Regions from separate parts of the Homo sapiens genome. Here regions 2 and 3 are each linked to region 1. Evidence: promoter capture Hi-C in human tissues and cell types (Jung and others, 2019). All regions are on one chromosome and are shown on one strand. Each heading gives the region's core, a stretch centred on a gene start or on the middle of the fragment in contact. The rest is flanking DNA. Distances are from core to core; before and after follow the strand shown. Region 1 holds the start of SLC22A24 (solute carrier family 22 member 24). Region 2 overlaps PLAAT5 (phospholipase A and acyltransferase 5). Region 3 has its middle 58 kb from the start of SLC22A9.

The links. The method cuts DNA at HindIII sites, captures the fragments that hold promoters and counts their contacts. A contact is called where the count stands out against the background at its distance.
Region 2: a fragment that was not itself captured here is called in contact with the fragment with the promoter of SLC22A24 in region 1 in 1 of the 25 tissues and cell types used here (mesendoderm cells).
Region 3: a contact is called between a fragment that was not itself captured here and the fragment with the promoter of SLC22A24 in region 1, in 4 of the 25 tissues and cell types used here (H1 embryonic stem cells, hippocampus, liver and 1 more).

Annotation. Positions count from the first base shown.
Region 1 is chr11:63,141,422-63,146,393 of GRCh38, forward strand. SLC22A24 (solute carrier family 22 member 24) reads right to left here and starts at 2,800. Exons shown (of 10, transcript NM_001136506.2): 1 at 1,957-2,800. The coding sequence starts at 2,358. The HindIII fragment of the contact is 8,571 bases long and covers 1-4,972 here.
Region 2 is chr11:63,484,379-63,489,350 of GRCh38, forward strand. It overlaps PLAAT5 (phospholipase A and acyltransferase 5), which reads right to left. Exons shown (of 6, transcript NM_001146729.2): 3 at 4,493-4,598. It also overlaps the pseudogene LOC124902822. Among named protein-coding and RNA genes, the nearest start is that of PLAAT5, 4.3 kb to the right of the region's middle. The HindIII fragment of the contact is 8,832 bases long and covers 1-4,972 here.
Region 3 is chr11:63,425,636-63,430,607 of GRCh38, forward strand. No RefSeq gene overlaps it. Among named protein-coding and RNA genes, the nearest start is that of SLC22A9, 58 kb to the left of the region's middle. The HindIII fragment of the contact is 3,761 bases long and covers 1,188-4,948 here.

The sequences.
Region 1 (4,972 bases), core at 1,550-4,049:
AGGATACAATTGGAGAAACTGGTCATTTTTCCAAGGCTTTGACTGGAATGGCATGCTTCTTGTAAAGAATCAAAGTTGACTTATGGAACCAATTAAAACCCACTGGGGAATCTGGCCTCATACCTTGTCCAGACAGAGTCCCTGTACAAGGTTCCTGACCTGTGTTAAGTAAAGAATGTCACTTTCTAACAGGCCCAGGAACCCCAAGTTATCTTGAGGAGAGGACTTTGTTCAACTCATAGGTATCTGAGGGTTCAAACCCATGGCTGGGCTCGGCTTTTAAAAAGCCTTATCTGAGATTCTTCATGGAACAGAGTTTCATCAAAGCCAATTAAAAAAGCCTAAGTGAAAAATAATTATTCTTGCTGCACTTTATGCAAATAATCAGGCCAAGTACAGTGAAACTAAAGTTTGTTTTGTAAACTGTAAGTCAGTTCTATCATAATTTGTTTTTAATAAAAATAGGGACTGGAGAGAGAAAAATTATGCTTCAAAAGAAAAACTATATTACACTTTTGTTAGCTGTTCTTGATGTTTTTTTTTCTGCAGGTTAGACTAAATTCTAAATTATTTGTGAGTTAGAAGGCCCCAGACAAATGCTTTCCAATCTTTGCTTTTAAAATTGGGAATTGTACTCCTCATCCTAGGACTCATTATTTACCTTATAGCATGCTCTTCATTTAAATACTGTACTAAAACTATAGATGAGAGTACTAATATTTTTGCCACACAAGCCTTGGAAGCCCATCCAGGCCTGCATGAATACACTCAGTAGCAAAGCAGTTCCACTCTTCTCACCTTGGGGTTCACTCCCATTCCCATTATGTCCCCTGTCAGCAGGAAGAAGCTGGAGTGATAGATGGCCTTTTCCCGTCTTCATAGCCTACATCTTAAGATTAAGGTGTTATAAAACCCAAAGGGAGGGATTGAAACTGCCTTTGCAAAATTATGACTGAGACCGTGAAAGAGATCTAACTTAACCGACTCCATCTTGCTTCTGACCTCCAAGCTGTCCTTGTGCATTCCTGGGCATAGGCTGAACTAACTTTGGGAGAAACTTAGTTTGTAGTTTATAGTTTGAACAAAGACAGCCTTTCCCAAAGCAGACCTCCTTCTTGCCTGGGGACTAGATTAACGTTAGCCACAGGATTAGAAATTATCATTTAGTAGTCACACAGCTGGAGGCTACAAGATTCTGACCCTCCCTAAACTGCTCCTAAGATCAGTGCTTGAGATATTTTGCAGATCCCGCACTTGATGGATCAGCTGTCACCACCCAGATCGATAAACTGGCTCATCTGATCTTGTGACCCCCACTTAGGAAGTGACTCAGCACAAGAAGGCAGCTTTGACTCCCTATGATTTCAGCCCTGATCAGTCAGCACTCTTGGCTCACTGGCTGCCCCCCAACCACCAAGTTATCCTTAAAAACTCTGCTCCCCGAATGCTCAGGGAGACTAATTTGAGTAGTAATAAAACTCTGGCCTCCCTCAAAAAACAAAAAGCAAAAAACAAAAACAACCAAAACTAAGTATCTCAACAACATTTTGTAGGAGAAACACTTTCACAACCAGCAGAATGCAGAAAAATTTGTCAAATCCCAAAGCGTGGATATTTATGTTACAGAATTAACAAACTTATTTCTCATTGCCAAAAATGTGTTGATTGTAATGGTTCCTATTTTGATTAATAAAGATGTGTTTGAGCCTAGTTATAATGATTTAAAATTCATGGTCTAATACCACAATTTACTTTTACACCAATATAATACTAATACACTTGGCTGTATCGTAGAGTATTAATAGATAATCAGGTGCTGCCACCTGCTAAAGGAATGAAGAATGAGCTGACTGCAGGTCCCATCTAAGGACTAAAGGTATAAAGCAAGTCAATTTTTTTGTGTTAACTCCAAACACTTTAATCATATAAACAGAAGATTTACATGGGGCCTCTTACCTCAGTCACGATGGTGGAGAGGAAAGAGCTTCTGTCGTACACCCAGCCATCCACACAGGGCTCCGTGTCTGGCTCATTTGTGTTGGGGAAGGTCCCGTTCAGGTGAAGGAGCTGCCACTGGGGATGGATAAAGCGCTGACACTTCTGTGGCCTCAGGTTTGAGTCCAGTGGGATGGAGATTCTCAGGAGGTCATCCTTGCTGAGGGTCCCGGTATCATTGTCAGACACAGTGTCATTGTCCAGGAGGGGGACCCAGCAGCGATGACTAGGGGTGAATGCAGTGAAGTTCTCCAACACAATATTAGGGAACAGTAGGATGTTGGTGATGCAAAAGAAAGCTATCAGACAAATCTGGAATCTCCCCATGCCACCCACTTGATCCAGGAGCACATCAAAGCCCATTGAGACTGAACAGGTGATCCCCAAGAGGAAGCACAATGACTTTATGAAGAGAAGTTCAGAGGGAGAAAATGTCCCCTTTCACAAAGTTACCATAGTGCCATGTGGATCCTGACACTGCTTTCTTCTTGGTGGGCCCTGCACTGAGTGGTGTGACACTACTGCAGAAGAGCAGTGGAAGGACTTTCCCCAAGTCCTTTAACTTTAGGCAGCCAAATAGTTTCAGAAGTCACAGATATAATTATTTGGCAAAGAGACTGCTAGCTGTTGACAACTGAATCTTCTTAAAAGACTACTCTGTGAAAGATCCTGATCTCTGAGTTTCCTGATAAGTCAACGGTGGATTTTCAGGTGGATGCAGTCCCCACGTGACCTAAAATACACCTGTTCAATAGTCTGCCATTCTTCTTAGAAATGGGATATTAGAAAATCCAAAGTGAATTGCTTTATGATGTTCTTGTACAAAGATCAGAGAGCAGGGCTTTTTTTGGACTAGGACTGAGTTTTACTAAAAGTTAATAAAAACTATTCTTAGTTAAAGGAAAGTGGAATGTTGAGTTTAAACATTGACTTTTGCTAAGTGTAGTTCTGCTTCAGTTCAAGTCATACCAATGACAGGGCTTTAAAGATTTTTTAAAATAGGGAAATTAGGATAAGAAACAAAGAGAAAGGAAATAGTGCTTTTATGTATTATAGTAGTATATTTCACCAGATTTATTGATTCATTCAAATATCATTTTGGGCTTTCTGGTGCTATTGCTGTAAATAAAGCAATGTTAACTTACATATATTTATTTATAAGTTTAAAATAAAATTTGAGCTCAATGTCTCATATAAATGATAGGTTTGTAAATAATTGTACTGTAATGTCATCATATAACTATAAGGAAGATACACAGTGTGCTATGGAAGATTAAGGAGAAACTGTTTAATGATACCTGGATAGATGCCATGGAGCAGGGGAGTCATCCCTCTACAAATTAACTTTACCTACTCTTTTTTTTTTTGAGACAAAGTATCACTCTGTCACCAGGCTGGAGTGCAGCGGTGGGATCTTGGCTCTCTGCAGCCTTGACCTCCTGGGTTCAATCAATTCTCATGTCTCAGCCTCCCAAGTAGCTGGGATTACAGGCATTCACCCACATGCCCAGCTAATTTTTGTATTTTTTATGGAGAAGGGGTTTCATCATATTGGCCAGGCTGGCCTCAAACTCCTGACCTCATGTGATCTGCCCACCTCAGCCTCTGAAAGTGCTGGGATTACAGGCATGAGCCACCATGCCCAGCCAGCTTGACCTACTCTTGTGGGAAGATTCTTGAGATAATGAAGCAGTGGATGAGGGACTGCAAGAGTCAATTTTTAAATGAGGGAATAATAAGTACACAATTACAGTTAAAGGTGTGGCATAATTGTGTACCTACAAGGATATTCAAAAGCTAGCAGCTAAATAGCATGCACGGATATAATGGGAAAAGACAGGTTGATTAAAAAGAAACCCAAAGAAACAAACAGAATCTCCAGAATTTATTCTGCCTACAAGAAGTTCTTATTTTTGAATTTCAAACTGGTCACCCGTGAAACATCTTAAGATGCAGATTCCTGGATGGGTGCAGTGGCTCACACCCATAATCCCAGCTACTCAGGAGGCTGAGGCAGGAGAGCCACTTGAACCTGGGAGTGAAGGTTGCAGTGAGCTGAGATTGTGCCACTGCACTCCAGCCTGGGTGACACAGCAAGACTCTGTCTCAAAAAAAAAAAAAAAAAAAAAAAAAAAAAAAAAAAAAAGCAGATTCCTGTCCAGCCTGCAGAGATTCTCTGTTCAGGAAATGACTTTCATGGATCTATTCCAAACAGGAAATCTAATACATCACAGGGTTTTGTTGTAAATTGTTAGAAATGTTTTAGTTCACTAGGGCTGCATAACAAAATACCACAGACTTAACAGAAGGTGACTTTACAGAAGTTTATTTTCTCACAGTTCTGAAGGCTGAAAGTCTAAGATCAAGGTGTCAACAGATTTGATTTCCTCTGAGCCTCTCTCTTTGGTTTGTCAATAGCTGCCTTCTCGTCATGTCCTCACATATTCTTTCATTTATGCATGTGCACACCTGGTGTTCCTTCCTCTTCTTATAAGGACACTAGTCATATTGGATCAGGGCCCCACCCTATGGGTCTCATTTTAACCTATCCCCAAATATGGTTGTATTTTGAGGTATTAGGGGTTGGGACTTTGACATAGGAATTTTGGGAGTGGGAGACACAATTCACCCCATAATGGGGTTAGACAATCACAATTATATTTTACTAAAGTTACTGACACAGTGTAAAAATAGTAAGAAGTGAACGTTCCAGCAAGGCAAACCATTCAGAACCACAAGAATAAAATGATGTAAAGAATGATTACAGCTGTGAATTCACTGAGTATTCGCTATAAGTCGATTCTGTTGTAAGCACTTTTAATGTTTTCCTTATTTTAGTTCTCACCCTTGTTATCTACATTTTACCCCTGAGAAAACAAAGGACTAGACACATTAAATAACTTGCCAAAGGATATACAGAGTGTAAGTGGTAGAGCCAAAATATGGACCATGGTAGTCTAAAGGAAAATCTCTTACT
Region 2 (4,972 bases), core at 225-2,724, 340 kb after region 1:
ATGCAAAAATCCTCAACAAAATACTAGTTAACTGAATCAAACAGCATATCAAAAAGATAATCCACCATGATCAAGTGGGTTTTATAGCAGGGATGCAGGGATGGTTTAATATATGCAAGTCAATAAATGTGATATATCACATAAACAGAATTAAAAACAAAAATCACATGATTATCTCAATAGACACAGAAATAGCATTTGACAAGATCCAGCATCCCTTTATGATTAAAAACCTCAACAAAATCAGCATAAAAGGGACAAACCTCAAGGCAATAAAAGCCATCTACGACAAACCCACAGCCAACATTATAGTGATTGGGGAAAAGTTGAAAGCATTCCCCCAGATAACTGGAAAAAGACGAGGATGCCCACTTTCACCACATTTATTCGACATAGTGCTAGAAGTCCTAGCCAGAGCAATCAGACAAGAGAAAGAAATAAAGGGCATCCAAATCAGTAAAAAGGAAGTCAAACTGTTGCTGTTTGCTGATATGATCATAGACCTGGAAAACCCTAAAGCCTAATCCAAAAAGTCCTAGAACTGGTAAATCAATTTAGCAAAGTTTCAGGATACAAAATTATTGTACACAAATCAGTAGCCCTGCTGTACACCAACAATGACCAAGCTGAGAATCAAATCAAGAACTCAACCCCTTCTAAAACAGCTGTAAAAAAAAAAAAATACTTAGGAATATACCTAACCAAAGACATGAAAGATCTCTACAAGGAAAACAAAACACTGCTGAAAGAAATCACAGATGACACAAACAAATGGAAACACATCTCATGCTCATGGATGGGTAGAATCAATATTGTGAAAATGATCATACTGCCAAAAGCAATCTACAAATTTAGTGTAATTCCCATCAAAATACCTATTCACAGAACTAGAATGAAACAATCCTAAAATTAGTATGGAACCAAAAAAGAGCCCACATAGCCAAAGCAAGACTAAGCAAAAAGAACAAATCTTGAGGCATCACATTACCTGACTTTGAACTATACTGCAAGGCTATAGTTACCAAAACAGCATGGTACTGGTATAAAAACAGGCATGTAGACCAATGTAACAGAATAGGGAACCCAGAAATAAAACAAAATACAGCCAACTGTCTTCAACAAAGCAAACAAAAACATAAAGTAGAAAAGGACATCCTATTCAACAAAAAATGCTGGGATAATTGGCAAGCCACATGTAGAAGAATAAAGCTGGATCCTCAACTCTCACCTTCTACAAAAATCAACTCAAGATGCATCAAAGATTTAAATCTAAGATATGAAACCATAAAAATTCTAGAAGATAACATCAGAAAAACCCTTCTAGACATTGGCTTAGGAAAAGAGTTCATGATCAAGAACCCAAAAGCAAATGCAACATAAACAAAGATAAATAGATGGGACCTAATTAAACCAAAAAGCTTCTGCACAGCAAAAGAAACAATAAGCAGAGTAAACGGACAACCCACAGAGTGGGAGAGAATTTGTACAAACTATGCATTCAACAAAGGACTAATATCCAAAATCTGCAAGGAAATCAAGCAAATAAATCAGCAAGGAAAAAAACAATCCCATCAAAAAGTGGGCAAAGGACATGAACAGGCAATTCTCAAAAGAAGATATACAAATGGCCAACAAACATATTAAAAAACTGCTCAACGTCACTAATTATCAGAGAAATGCAAATCAAAACCACGATGCAATAATACCACCTTACTCCTCCAAAATGGCCATAACTTAAAAATAAAAAAAATAATATGTGTTGGCATAGATGTGGTGAAAAGGGAACACTTTTACACTGCTGGTGGGGATGTAAACTGATACAATCACTATGGAAAACACCATGGAGACTCCTTAAAGAACTAGAAGTAGCACAACAATTTGATCCAGCAATCCCACTACTGGGTATCTAACCAGAGGAAAAGAAGTCATTGTATGAAAAAGGCACTTGCACATGCATGTTTATAGCAGCACAATTCACAACTGCAAAAATATGGAACCAGCCTAAATGACCATCAACCAATGAGTGGACAAAGAAAATGTGGTATATATATATATGCACACACACACACATACACACACACCACGGAATACTACTCAGCCGTAAAAAGGAATGAAACAATGACATTCACAGCAACCTGGATAGAGCTGGAGACCATTATTCTAAGTGAAGTAACTCAGGAATGGAAAACAAAAAAATCATATGCTCTCACTTATAAGTGGGGGCTAGCTATGAGGGCACAAAGGCATAAGAATGATGTAATCAACTTTAGGGACTCAGAAGGGAAGGGTGGGAGTGGGGTGAGGGATAAAAGACTACACATTGAGTATAGTGTACACTGCTCAGGTGATGGATGCACTAAAATCTCAGAAATCACCACGAAGGAACTTTTGCATGCAACCAAACACCACCTGTTCCCCCAAAACTATTGAAATAAAAATACAGATAAAAATGTATCAAATATGTAAATGTAAAAAACAAAACTATAAAATACCTAGAAGAAAACAGGAGAAAATCTTTGTGACACTGGATTAGGCAAAGGTCTCTTAGATACACCACCAAAGGCACTATTCATAGAGATTTATATGAAATCATGTTGTATGTCCACTTCTTTGGCGGTCTCCTTCATATAACTATTTTGAGTGACATCCGTGTTGTTGCTTTTTATCAACAGTTCATTCCTTTTTATTACTGAGCAGTATTTCATTACATTTCCGTTTTATAAAAGGAAAAGCTGACACATTGGACTTCATCAAAATTTAAGAACCTGTTCTGAAGAGACAAGCCACAGATGGAGAGAAAATATTATAAAGTATATATCTGATGACGTACTTGTATACAGAACTTCTGAAGAACTCTCAAAACATACAAACCAATAGGAAAAAATGGGCAAAAGATTTGAACACTTCACCAAAGATTATATATATGGATGGCAAATATACGCATGAAAAGACGTTCAACATTATTAGTCATTAGGAAAATGCAAATGAAAACCACAATGAGATACCTACACATCTATTAAAATAGCTAAAATTTAGAAGATTTTGACCATGCCAAATGCTGATGAACTGGAACTCTTATAAACTGCTGGTAGGAATGTAAAATGATACAACCACTGTGGAAAACAGTAAGTTAAGGTTAGAGCTCTTTTAGAATTTGTCTGGCAGGCTTGGAAAGCCCCAAAAAAGAAAAAAAAAATGTTAAGGAAAACAGTAAATTAAATATACATCTACCACATGACCTAGCCATTTCATTCCTACATATTCACCCAAGAGGAAAAAATATACAGTCTGCACAAAGACTCGTACATAAATGTTCAAGCAGATTTGTGATAGTCAAAAACTAGTAACAACTCAAATGCTCAATCAACAGGTGAACACATAAACAAGAGTGGTATATCCATACAATGAAATACTGCTCAGTAATAAAAAGGAATGAACTGTTGATAAAAAGCAACAACATGGATGTCAGTCAAAATAGTTATATGGGCTGGCTGCAGTGGCTCATGCCTGTAATCCCAACACTTTGGGAAGCCGAGGCGGGAGGATCATGAGGTCGGGAGATCGAGACCATCCTGGCTAACACAGTGAAACCCCGTCTCTACCAAAAATACAAAAAATTAGCCGGGCATGGTGGCAGGTGCCTCTAGTCCCAGCTACTCGGGAGGCTGAGGCAGGAGAATGGCGTGAGCCCAAGAGGCAGAGCTTGCAGTGAGCCAAGATCACGCCACTGCACTCCAGCCTGGGCGACAGAGCGAGACTCCATCTCGAAAAAAATATATATAGTTATATGAAGGAGACAGACAAAGAAGTGCACATACAATATGATTTCATATAAATCTCTAAAAATGTGAACACATCTATGGTGACAAAAAGCATATCAGTTGTTGCCTGGGGATGGGAGTGGTATGGGAAGAGAGAGGGATTACAAAAGGCACAAAGAAACTTTTGTAAATGACAGAGATTATTCATTATCTTGATTGTGGTGAAGATTTGACAGGATATATATATAGATGTCAAAATGTATCAAACTATACACTTCACTGGCATATATATATGCCAAATTTATCAAATTGTATATTTTAGATATGTGGAGTTTACTATATGTCAATTACACCTCAATAAAACTGCTTTAAAACAAAGCATAACCAACATCCCAAATCAGGATATTTATTAGACCATCTAAACCAAGTTTGTCCAACCCGCAGCCCACAGGCCACATACAGCCCAGGACAGCTTTGAATGTGGCCCAACACAAATTTGTAAACTTTATTAAAACATTATGAGACTTTTTTGTGGGTTTTTTTTTTTTTTAAGCTCAACAGCTATCGTCAGTGTTAGTGTATTTTATGTGTGGCCCAAGACGTTTCTTCTTCCAGTGTGGCCCAGGGAAGCCTAAAGATTGGACACCCCTAGAAACAAAGTAAAATACAATATGTAGAGAAGTTGCCAGGAGGTTAAAGATAGTCACTTTGAGAATTCTTGTTACACCTACCTCAGCTGCTTGCTTTATTAACTTGCCTTCATTCTCAGGCTTTGGAATTGAACTCCAGTCTGCTTTCTGGCTGGGTGTGGTCTCCAAGCTAACTACAGCCTTCTCCCTAAATGATTTTGCAATCACAAAGTTAACAAATATCACTATTTCATAATTATTGGAAAATCTGTATTACAGATTTGTGATTTTTAAGATGGCTTTTGGTTTGGAGACTGTAGGGAACATTTCCCCCCGTTTGTTTCTGTGAACCCATTAGCTTTCATACAAAAGAATTGCTGTTTGCTGGTTTTCTGACAATTGTTCAAATGCTAATGATAGCAAGAAGCAGTTTTGGGGGTTTTTATTTTTTAATTTGCTAATAATGTCTTTTTAATGTTTATCAAAGTGATACTTGCACATGGTTTCCAGTACATAAGAATTTATAATGAAATGCAAGGAGCCTTCCTCCTTTCCCTTTTCATCCCAGCCCTACTGCCCAGA
Region 3 (4,972 bases), core at 1,818-4,317, 280 kb after region 1:
CACGTGCAAATCAATAAACATGATACATCACATTAACAGAACCAAGAATTAAATAGATTTAAATAAATGATGAAAAAATATTTGACAAAACTCAACATCCTCTTATGAAAAATATCCTCAACAAACTAAGTATAGAAGGAACATACCTCAAAATAATAAAGGCCATATGTCACAAACCCACAGCTAACATTATACTGAACAGGGAAAAATGGAAAGCCTTTCTTCTAAGGTCTTAAACAAAACAAGGATGCCCGCTTTTACCACTTTTATTCAACATAATATCAAAAGTCCCAGCCAGAGCAATTAGGCAAGAGAAACAAATAAAGGGAATCCAAATTGGAAAGGAAGAAGTCAAATTCTCTTGTTTGCATAAGATAACTTTTTTCGTGGGAGTTTAATCTTTTCACTGACAAGTAAGCTTTATTATATGTCAAATCAACATTTTAGAGTTTTTTCATTGACACATTATATTTACATGTTTATTGGGTATATGTGAGCGTTTGTTACATGCATGGAATGAGTGATAATCAAGCCAGGGTAATTTGGGGTATCCATCACCATGCATGTATGCATGTTTATCATTTTTAGGTGTTTTATCATTTCTAGTCTTCTAGTTACTTTGCAATATACATAATAGTATTGCTACATATGGTCACCCTAGTCTGCTATCAAACATTAGGATGATTTCTTCAATCTAACTGCATGTTTGTATCCATAAACAACCTCTCTTCACCTCCCTTTCCCAGTTTCTGATATCTATCCTATTCTTGATGTCCATGAGATCAAGTTTTTACATCCCACATATGAGTGAGAACATGTGGTATTTATCTTTTTGTGCTTCCCTTACGTCACTTATCATAATAAAACCCATTTCCATCCATGTTGCTGGAAAAGGATTCCACTCTTTTTAATGGCTGAATAGTGTATGTGTATATATGTGTATGGGTATTTGTGCAGGTATGGGTACCTATGGGTGTGGGTGTAGGTGTGTATCCAGAAAACAAATAGTACATATAAACACATACATGTACATGCATGCATGTGCACACACACACTCACACACACACACCATTTTTCTTGTCCAATCAGCCATTGATGAACACTTAGGTTGATTCCATATCTGTTCTATTGGGAATAGCATTGTGATAAACCTGTGAGTCAAATGTATCCCTTTGAGAAAATAATTTCTTTTCTTTTGGATAGATACCCTGTAGTGAGATTGCTGCATCATGTAGTAGTTCTAGATTTAGTTTTTCTGAGAAATATCTATACTGCTTTCCATAATGGTTGCACTAATTTACATTCCCACCATGTCTAAGAGTACCCTTTTCTCTGCAACCTCACCAGCATCTGGGTGTGTGTGTGTCTGTGTGAGTGTGTGCATCTGTCAATAATAAACATTCTGTGGTGAGATAATATCTCATTGTGGTTTTTATTTACAATCCCTGATAATTAGTGTTGAGCATTTTTCATATACTATTGGTCTTTTGTAAGTCTTCTTTTGAAAAATATTGTTCATTTTTAGTGGGATTGTTTGGTTTTCTATAGTTGAATTGTTATTCTTGTATAGAATACATATTAGTCCCCTTTGGATGAGCACTTTGCAAATATTTTCTCCCATTCAAGTGATTTGCACTTCCCTTGTAATAGGTGATGTTGAGCAGATTTTCATATACCTATTAGCCATTTGTACATCTTTTTTTAGGTAAGATTTTATTTATTATGATGGGTGTGCTTGCCTGTTCCTAAGTTCATTCCAGTCTGGAACATAGGAAGATAATGCTACCTGCATAGCTGCTACACCATTCAGCCATTTCTTTCCTTTGTTTTTAACTGGGTTAAGATAGAAAACCCTAGTTCACACAAACTAGTTGTTGTGAATGGTAGTAATAGCAGGACACTCTTTCTATTTAACAATGGAAAGTCTTCCTTTACCTTATTCCAAAATGCTGATAAGCTTAAGGTCTCATAATCATTCTTTAATGTATATGAAGAACTAAACTGCAATAATTCATTCTCTTCTTCAGGCACCAAGTTTAGCTCAATTATTGATTCAGGGTTTTGAAAAGCAAATGGATATTTTACCCAACTGTTTTCCCTTAATGTTTCAAATTTTTCTTCTGGAAAGAAACGGTTAAAAGTTTGAGATAGGTCACTTCCAAGATGGCCTAATAGGAACAGCTCCAGTCTACAGCTCCCAGTGAGATCGATGCAGAAGATGGGTGATTTCTGCATTTCCAACTGAGGTACCTGGTTCATCTCATTGGGACTGGTTGGACAGTGGGTGCAGCCCATGGAGGGTGAGCCAAAGCAGGGCAGGGCATCACCTCACCCAGGAAGTGCAAGGGGTTGGGGGATTTCCCTTTCCTAGCCAAGGAAAGCTGGGAGTGACTGTACCTGGAGGAATGGTACACTCCTGCCCAAATACTGCACTTTTCCCAGGGTCATCACAACCAGCAGACCAGGAGATTCCCTCCCAAGCCTGACTAGACAGGTCCCACACCCATGGAGCCTTGCTCGCTGCTAATGCAGCAGTCTGAGATCAACCTGGGATGTTGGAGCTTGGCAGGGGGAGGGGCATCCACTACTACTGAGGCTTGAGTAGGCAGTTCTATGCCCACAGTCTAAACAAAGCAACAGGGAACTTCAAACTGGGCGGAGCCCACCACAGCTCAGCAAGGCCTACTGCCTCTCTAGATTCCACCTCTAGGGGCAGGGCATATCTGAACAAAAGGCAGGAGACAGCTTCTGCAGACTTAAACCTCCCTGCCTAACAGCTCTGAAAAGAGCAGTGGTTCTCACAGCACAGAGTTCAAGCTCTGATAATGGACAGACTGCCTCCTCAAGTGGGTCCATGACCCCATGATTCCTGATGGGGAGACACCTCACAGTAGGGGCCGACAGACACCTCATACAGGCAGGTGTCCCTCTGGGACAAAGCTTCCAGAGAAAGGATCAGGCAGCAATATTTGCTGTTCTGCAACCTCCACTGGAAATACCCAGGCAAACCTGGTAATACTCCAGGGTCTGGAGTGGACCTCCAGCAAACTCCAACAGACCTGCAGATGAGGGGCCTGACTGTTAGAAGGAAAACTAACAAACAGAAAGGAATAGCATCAACATCAACAAAAAGGACATCCACAACAAAACCCCATCCATAGGTCACCAACATCAAAGACCAAACGTAGACAAAAACCACAAAAATGGGGAGAAACCAGAGCAGAAAGGCTGAAAATTCCAAAACCAAAATACCTCTTCTCCTCCAAAGGAACACAACTCCTCAACAGCAAGGGAATAAAACTGGATGGAGAATGAGTTTGACAAATTGACAAAAGTAGTCATCAGAAGGTCGGTAATAACAAACTTCTCTGAGCTAAAGGAGCATGTTCTAACCCATTGCAAGGAAACTAAACTTTGAAAAAAGGTTAGACGAATGGCTAACTAGAATACCAGTAAGGAGAAGAGCTTAAATGGCCTGATGGAGCTGAGAACCACAGTATGAGACCTTCATGAAGCATACACAAGCTTCAATAGCCGATTAGATCAAGTGGAAGTAAGGATATCAGTGATTGAAGATCAAATTAATGAAATAAAGTGAGAAGACAAGACTAGAGAAACAAGGGTGAAAAGAAACAAATAAAGCCTCCAATAAACATGAGACTATATGAAGACCAAATCTATGTTTGATTGGTGTACCTGAAAGTGATGGGAGAATGGAACCAAGTTAGAAAACACTCTTCAGGACATTATCCAGGAGAACTTCCCCAACGTAGCAAGGCAGGCCAACATTCAACTTCAGGAAATAGAGAGAACACCACAAAGATACTCCTGGAGAAGAGCAACCCCAAGAAACATAATCATCATATTCACCAAGGTTGAAATGAAGGAAAAAATGTTAAGGGCAGCCAGAGAGAAAAGTCAGGTTACCCACAAAGGGAAGCCCATCAGACTAACAGCAGATCTCTCAGCAGAAACCCTACAAGCCAGAAGAGAGTGGGGGCTAATATTCAACATTATTAAAGAAAAAATTTTTAACCCAGAATTTCATATCCAGCCAACTAAGCTTCATAAGTGAAGGAGAAATAAAATCCTTTACAAACAAGCAAGTGCTGAGGGATTTTGTCACCATCAGGTGTGCCTTAAAGAGCTCCTGAAGGAAGCACTAAATATGGAAAGGAAAAAGTGGTACCAGCCACTGCAAAAACAAACCAAAATGTAAAGACCATCGACACTATGAAGAAACCGCATCAACTAATGGGGAAAATAACCTGCTAGCACCATAATGACAGGATCAAATTCACACATAACAATATTAGCATTAAAGGTAAGTGGGCTAAATGCCCCAATTAATAGGCACAGATGGGCAAACTGGATGAAGAGTCAAGACTCATCAGTGTGCTGTATTCAGGAGACCCATCTCAAGTGCAAAGACACACTTATGCTCAAAATAAAGGGATGGAGAAATATTTACCAAGCAAATGGAAAGAAAAAAAAACAGAGTTTACAATCCTAGTCTCTGATAAAACAGACTTTATAATACAGGAGCACGCAGATTCATAAAGCAAGTTCTTAGAGACCTACAAAGAGACTTAGACTCCCACACAATAATAGTGGGAGACTTTAATACCCCACTGTCAATATTAGACAGACCAATGAGACAGAAAATTAACAAGGATATTCAGCACTTGAACTCAGCTCTGAACCAGGTGGGCCTAATAAACATCTACAGAACTCTCCACCTCAAATAAACAGAATATACATTCTTCTCAGCACCACATAGCACTTATTCTAAAATCGACCACATAGTGGTTCCAAGATGGCCGAATAGGAACAGCTCCAGTCTACAGCTCCCAGCATGAGTGACGCAGAAGACAGGTGATTTCTGTATTTCCAACTGAGGTACCAGGTTCATCTCACTGGGGTGTGTCAGACAGTGGGTGCAGGACAGTGGGTGCAGCCCACCAAGCAAGAG